Linked DNA regions of Homo sapiens: region 1 is linked to region 2. Evidence: promoter capture Hi-C in 16 types of primary human blood cells and fetal thymus (Javierre and others, 2016). All regions are on one chromosome and are shown on one strand. The core of a region is centred on a gene start or on the middle of the fragment in contact, and the rest is flanking DNA. Distances in the headings are between cores, read along the strand shown. Region 1 has its middle 11 kb from the start of TNRC6B-DT. Region 2 holds the start of RPS19BP1 (ribosomal protein S19 binding protein 1).

Region 1 (3,201 bases), core at 317-2,816, 520 kb before region 2:
TTTTTTTTTTTTTTGAGACAGGGTGTCACTCTGTCTCTCAGGCTGGAGTGTAGTGATGCAATCCTAGCTCACCGCAGCCTCCAACTCCTGGGCTCATGCAATCCTCCTGCCTCAGCCTTTTGAGTAGCTAGGACTACAGGCATGTGCCATCATGCTCAGTTGATGTTTAAAACATTTTTTGTAGAGATGGGGGTCTCACTATGTTGCTCAAGCTGGTCTCGAACTCCTGGCCTCAAGTGATCCTCTTACTCTGGCTTCCCAAAGTGCTGGGATTACAGGCATGAGCCACTGCACCCAGCCTGATTTTCTATCTTACTTAAAGGTGTTGCCTTCTCAACCTCGTCCTGCTTCCATTTTTCTCTGTCCTTTCTCTTCCAAACATCTTAAACTAAACTGCATTCATTACTACCATTCTCCCTATCATCACTTAGCTCCTTAGCCCTTTGTTATGTAGATCAAATACATACACAGAACTTGCAGAAATCGGCATTACCGTAAGTCAATTAACATCTTGTGAGTGTAATCAGCACTACCAGAGCATAATCACTTCTTCCCATTTGAAAAATATCAAGCTCTGAATATGCAAAGCTGAGAAACATTAGTTTAGCCAACAAGGTATGGACATCCTGCAACTGAAAGCAACTTAGCGGAAATAGAATGGAAGATGGCTAGAGATGGGGTGGATGGGGAAAGGAGACACTACTTAAGAGTAACAGGGAGAGAAAAATGGATAGGAGGAGACAGAAAAGGAAAGAGACATTGAAAACAAATAGGAGTAAATGAAGGAAAATGGGCTACATTTTTATCCAATTAATCTCCCTTTTTCAAATCTGGTTGAGAATTAAATTAGATTAATGTTAGCTCAGTGAACCACTTGGAGACTTGGAGATATGTAAAGACCTTCAAGCTGTAGGAACTGTCTTTCCCAGAACATATACCAGAGGCCCTTCTGGGTAGTCCTCTTTTCTGATTTCCTCTCTTTCACTGGTTCAGTGTCTGATCCATTTGAGATGGTATCAGCACTCACCTCAGGTGATCTAGAAGTCACTTCCTTTACACTCTCTGCTCCTACAGATAAGCTTAAATGAGTCACCACTTTCTAATTCCACCTAACATCATTTGCATGGTTATAGGTACACCACTGAAGCAAGTATATTAACTAGAAGTGACAAGTGCCGTTGTGGTTTATGATTATCTTCTCTGAATGGTACTCTATGCCTTTATGAATTCAAACATACAGATTCAGATCATTATTCTAAGGTCATTTCCTGTCCTAAACTGCAGTGGAGTAAGAGGCTGAGTCTGACATATCATGGTTCAACTGTAAGTCAGCTATTAGCCCTGTACCCTAATGCCAGCCTTGTAAAGCATACCGCTGTGCCGGTCATCTTCTCCACATACTAAAAACGCTCCCCCATGCCTCTACACAGGCTGTTCTCTCTGCCGGAAATGCCCTTTTCCTCCACAACTTAGTGTGAGTGTCACCTTCCCTGGGAAGGCTTTCTCAACCTCCCCATCGTGTTGATGACCTTCCTTTTCATCCCCGCAGCACCTCTTGTACTGTCTATTACAGCACTTATTACACTAAATGGCACTCATCTGTGTCCACATCTGTCTCACCCACCTGGCTGTGCATTCCTTGGGAACAAAGATCTCCTTTCGCCCCACCTCTGTAGTCCTGGCTCCTAGCACAGCATTCAGCATGTCTATGCATTCAAATGTTTAGTGAGAGCGTCATCATGTCAAGCCCAAGCATAATTTCTTTTCTTTTTTTGGAGACGGAGTCTTGTTCTGTCACCCAGGCTGGAGCTTAATGGTGCAATCTCAGCTCACTGCAACCTCTGCCTCCCGGGCTCAAGCAACCTTCCTGTATCAGCCTCCCGAGTAGCTGGGACTACTGGCGCGCACTACTACAACCAGCTAATTTTTTTTTTTTTTGTAGAGATGGGTTTCACCATGTCACCCAGGCTGGTCTCGAACTCCTGGACTCAAGTGACCTGCCTGCCTTGGCCTCCCAAAGTGCTGGCATTACATGCATGAGCCACCAAGCTTTGCCTAAAATGAGGTTTTTTAGAAATTCTATTTTAAATTCTCTTTCTTAACTTCATTTGAAAAAATATTTATTGAGGACCTACTATGTGCAACTCACAGTGCTAGATGTTGGTGACACAAATGTGAATAAAACAGAGTATTTTTATTCATGTAGCTATTTTCCAGAAGGGGAAATATAATATACAAATTAAATAATTATACAATTGATATCTTCTAATGTGGGGCGGGGTGATTAGGAAGTCATTAAAGAGGAGACACACACACTGAGCTCAGGATTGAAGAGGCATTAACTAAGGTTGGGCCTGCGGGCTTCCAGCTGTGAGAATAGTATGCTCAAGGAAGGGACCTTGGGTAGTGAAGAACACACATTTCCGGAACTTGAAGAGGGTCAGTATGGTGAGAGTACACTCAGCAAGGGGGAAGACAGTAGGAAAAGAGGCAGGGGACGCTGGCAGAAGCTTCACTGGGCAGTCAGTGAAAAAGGCAAGAACAAGAATTCAGGTTCTTATCAGGGTCTTTAGGCCTCACTGACAGTTTTGTTTTTGAGACAGGGTCTCACTCTGTCACCCACACTGGAGTGTGGTGGCGCAATCTCGGCTGACTGCAACCTCTGCCTCCAGGCTCAAGCTAGCCTCCCACCTCAGCCTCCTGAGTAGCTGGGACTACAGGCAGGCACCACCACGCCCAGCTAATTTTTGTATTTTTTGCAGAGACAGGGTTTTGCTATGTTGCCCAGGCTGGTCTTGACCTCCTGAGCTCAAGATATTCACCCACCTCAGCTTCCCAAAGTGCTGGGATTACAGGCACGAGCCTGTGCACCCAGTTATTAACAGTTTTAAGTAGGGGAGAAATATGATCAGATTTACACTTGCTTTTTAAGTAAATGTTTTAAATTAAGATATACACAGAACACATCTGTAGTTTTAAAAGATTATTCTCACTACAGTTTCAACAATTCTCTGAAGTAGAGAAGTTCCTACTTGCAAAAGAAAAAACTAAGACTCTGCAAAGCTAAGTAACTTACTTCAAGTTATTTATTTAACAAACATTTGAGTGTCTACGATATGACAGACACAGTACAGTATGTGCCTAGGGATGCAAAGATGACTACAATAGTCTCACTTAAGAAATTTGCAATCCAGCAGGAGA
Region 2 (3,041 bases), core at 275-2,774:
ACCCTCCAGGGGCCTACCTGACCCCATGGCTTGACAGGCCCCACCCAGCACCACAGCACTGCTCTCCCTGGTGGCTGGGACAGGAGCGCCCCCACAAATCCTGCGGCCAGGCTGCCAGTCTTAACTCCCACCCCTGACTCCACCCGTGTGACCTTCGCCTCTCTGTGTTTGTTTCCTCGTCTGTAAAATGCAAAAGACAATTCCTACCTGGAAGGGTAGGGGGGATAAACAAGTTAACAAATGTAAAGCACGTAGAACAGCACAAATGCTTGAGTTTGTGTTGGTTGTTATTATTACTCTCTAGCCGATGGAGCTTAAACGGTGTGGTCTATCCCGGAGGACGAACTCCAGGTCCCACACTCTGTGGTGTCAAGTACACAGAAGGCCCTCAGAACCCGGCTGAGTGAACCCAGTGGTCCCTTCTGATTCACCGTTCACTTATTGCGTGTCTTCTCCATGCCAGGTGCTGGGCTGCCAGCTGCAGATGGAGCAGCGAACAAGCCCAGGGCTCCTCCCCCAGGTAAGCAGTGTCACTTCTAGGCCAGAGGGGCTCAAATGTTTTGGTCTAAGAAGCTTCTTACATTTAAAACTTCAGAATCCCCTCACTCCTGTAATCCCAGCACTTTGGGAGGCTGAGGTGGGCGGATCACTTGAGGTCCGGAGTTCAAGACCAGCCTGGCCAACATGGCAAAACCCCGTCTCTACTAAAAATTTTTTAAAAAGAAAATTAGCCGGCCGTGGTGGCGGGCGTCTGTAATCTCAGTTACTCGGGAGGCTAAGGCAAAAGAATCGCTTGAACCCGGGAGGCGGAAGTTGCAGTGAGCCGAGATCGCTGCACTCCAGCCTGGGCGACAGAGCGAGATTCCGTCTCAAAAAAAAAATTAATTTAATTAAATAAAATAAATTTTAAAAAATTCAGGATCCCAAAGAACTTTTGTATGTAGGCAACTGATATTTGCCATACTAGAAACTAAAACAAAAATTTTACATATTCATTAATTCACTTAAAATGACAATAAACCCATTGCTTGGTAACATAAACAACGTATTTTATGAGAAATAATTGTAGTTTTCAAAACAAAGATATGTCTTTAATGTCTGGCTTAAGGGAAGACAACTGGATTCTCATGCTGCACTCAACCTGTGCGATACCTAGTGCTGGTTGAAGTATATGAAAAACACTCCGCCCTGTCCCCATCCTAGCCCGCCACGGAGCCACGAGACCCGAGAGGATTGGCCAACCCGGCGGAGCAGGTTGCGGACGGCTTCCGGGGAAGGAGGGGACTGAGCGCCAGGAGCCAGGTAGATTGGGATTGAGTAACACATGTGTCTTTCTGCGCCTTGGACCCGCCTCCAGTTTCCGCCCCTTCTTCCGCTCAAGTGTAAACCCCTAACGCATGCGTCCTAAGAAAGATGGGCACTTCCGCCCATCCCCCTCCGGATCCCTCTGTTCGGGCTCGGGTTTCCGCCGAGACGACAGGGACTGCCAGGTCGGAAGTAGTGTGAGGCTCGTGGGCGGAGCCAAGCGCCGCCATGTCCGCCGCCCTGCTGCGGCGGGGCCTGGAGCTGCTGGCGGCGTCCGAGGGTGAGGAGGGCTGGCCAGGGGACGTCCGGCGCGGGCAGGAGGATGGTAGTGGCTGCGGGCGGGAGCCCTGGATGGAAAACAATCCAGGCCGGGCTTAGCCCCAGTGGCATGGGAACGCTGCGCGCCCTCTGACCTGGGTCTCTTCCTCTCTCTTCCCCTACAGCCCCCCGGGACCCTCCAGGTCAGGCCAAGCCGAGAGGGGCTCCGGTGAAACGGCCCCGGAAGACGAAGGCAATTCAGGCCCAGAAACTGCGGAACTCGGCCAAGGGAAAGGTGCCCAAGTCGGCACTGGGTAAGTTCGGGAAGGGGCTGAAAGTGCTGCCTCCGGTGCTGGGACCTGCGCCCCAGAGGAGGTGGCGCTTGAGGCAGGGCTTGAAGCGTTCGCCCGGTATTGCTAGACCTACTGTGTGCCAGGCGCGGAGCGGGGCCCTGGACATACGAAGGTGACAGAACACGCCACCGTCCTGGTCCTCGTGGACTACGGCCCTAGTGGGGAGAGAAGCATCAAAGAATATCAAACCCAGTGTGTCATTGCTAAGTGCATTGAAGCCTATGAATTAAAAGACTACGGTACTCTGATGGGGACTTAGGCCAAGTCAGCCTTCTCTGAGGAAGCGACATTTCAGCCGAGAGCTGAAGGATGTATAAGAGTGAGCTAGGTGAAAAGTAGGAGAATATTCTAGGAAGAATAGTATGTGCAAAGGTCCTGAGTCAGAAAGGAGGTTGTTGCCTTTGAGAATTTGAAAAAATAAAGGCTGGTAAAGGTGACCTAGTGAATGAGGATCAAAGATGGAGCATTTAAACACATTCACTAACACTCTGTACCAGGTGCTGATTCTAAGTGCTGTACAAATGTAAGCTCGTTTGATCCTTACAGCAGCCCTTTGAGGTCGATACTACTATCACCCCCGTTTTACAGATTCAGAAAAAGGCACCTGCCCAGGTGGTACAGGCATTGTGGCTGCCCGGGCATTGTGTCTCCAGAGTGCTGCTATTACCTACTCCATTGAAATAGGACATGCTGTGGCCTGGGCAGTGGCTATAGCAGCAGAGATAACAAGAGAATTGTGCAGGTGGAAAATATGTTAAAGAGGGGGCAGCAGAGAATTTCAGCCTTTAGAGGGGTTTTAGTGGTGAATTGGCTGTGAAGGTGGAGCCTAGTTTCTTGGGGGACGTAGTGTCACTTAATAGACATAAAGACTTTCGGAGGGGCTGGTGTAGGCAAGATGGTGATATTTTGACATGTGTCAGGACGTGGCAAGCTCTTACTGTGTCTGAATCCCTAGAGTCTAATGCATAAAAGATGTTAAAGTATTTGTTAAAAGAATTATGAATTCCAAGGAGGAAATACAACTTAAGCCAAAGTCTGGAGGCAGGAAAGTGAGACAGGTTTGAGCCCCAGCGATACTTGCCATGAAGCAGGAGTGTGGAGTGCCAGAGGTCATTCCCATCTGTC

The links. Contacts are between HindIII fragments. The CHiCAGO score rates a contact against its expected background, and 5 or more counts as called.
Region 1: a contact is called between a fragment that was not itself captured here and the fragment with the promoter of RPS19BP1 in region 2, in 1 of 17 cell types (activated CD4 T cells). The highest score is 7.0, in activated CD4 T cells.

The regions. Positions count from the first base shown.
Region 1 is chr22:40,053,611-40,056,811 of GRCh38, reverse strand. It overlaps a transcript of TNRC6B not described here. Among named protein-coding and RNA genes, the nearest start is that of TNRC6B-DT, 11 kb to the right of the region's middle. The HindIII fragment of the contact is 970 bases long and covers 1,082-2,051 here.
Region 2 is chr22:39,531,231-39,534,271 of GRCh38, reverse strand. RPS19BP1 (ribosomal protein S19 binding protein 1) reads left to right here and starts at 1,524. Exons shown (of 4, transcript NM_194326.4): 1 at 1,524-1,585; 2 at 1,749-1,877. The coding sequence starts at 1,534. RefSeq lists enhancers at 1,330-1,379, 1,430-1,489, 1,279-1,794, 1,795-2,310 and silencers at 1,600-1,759, 1,940-2,069. The HindIII fragment of the contact is 8,920 bases long and covers 576-3,041 here.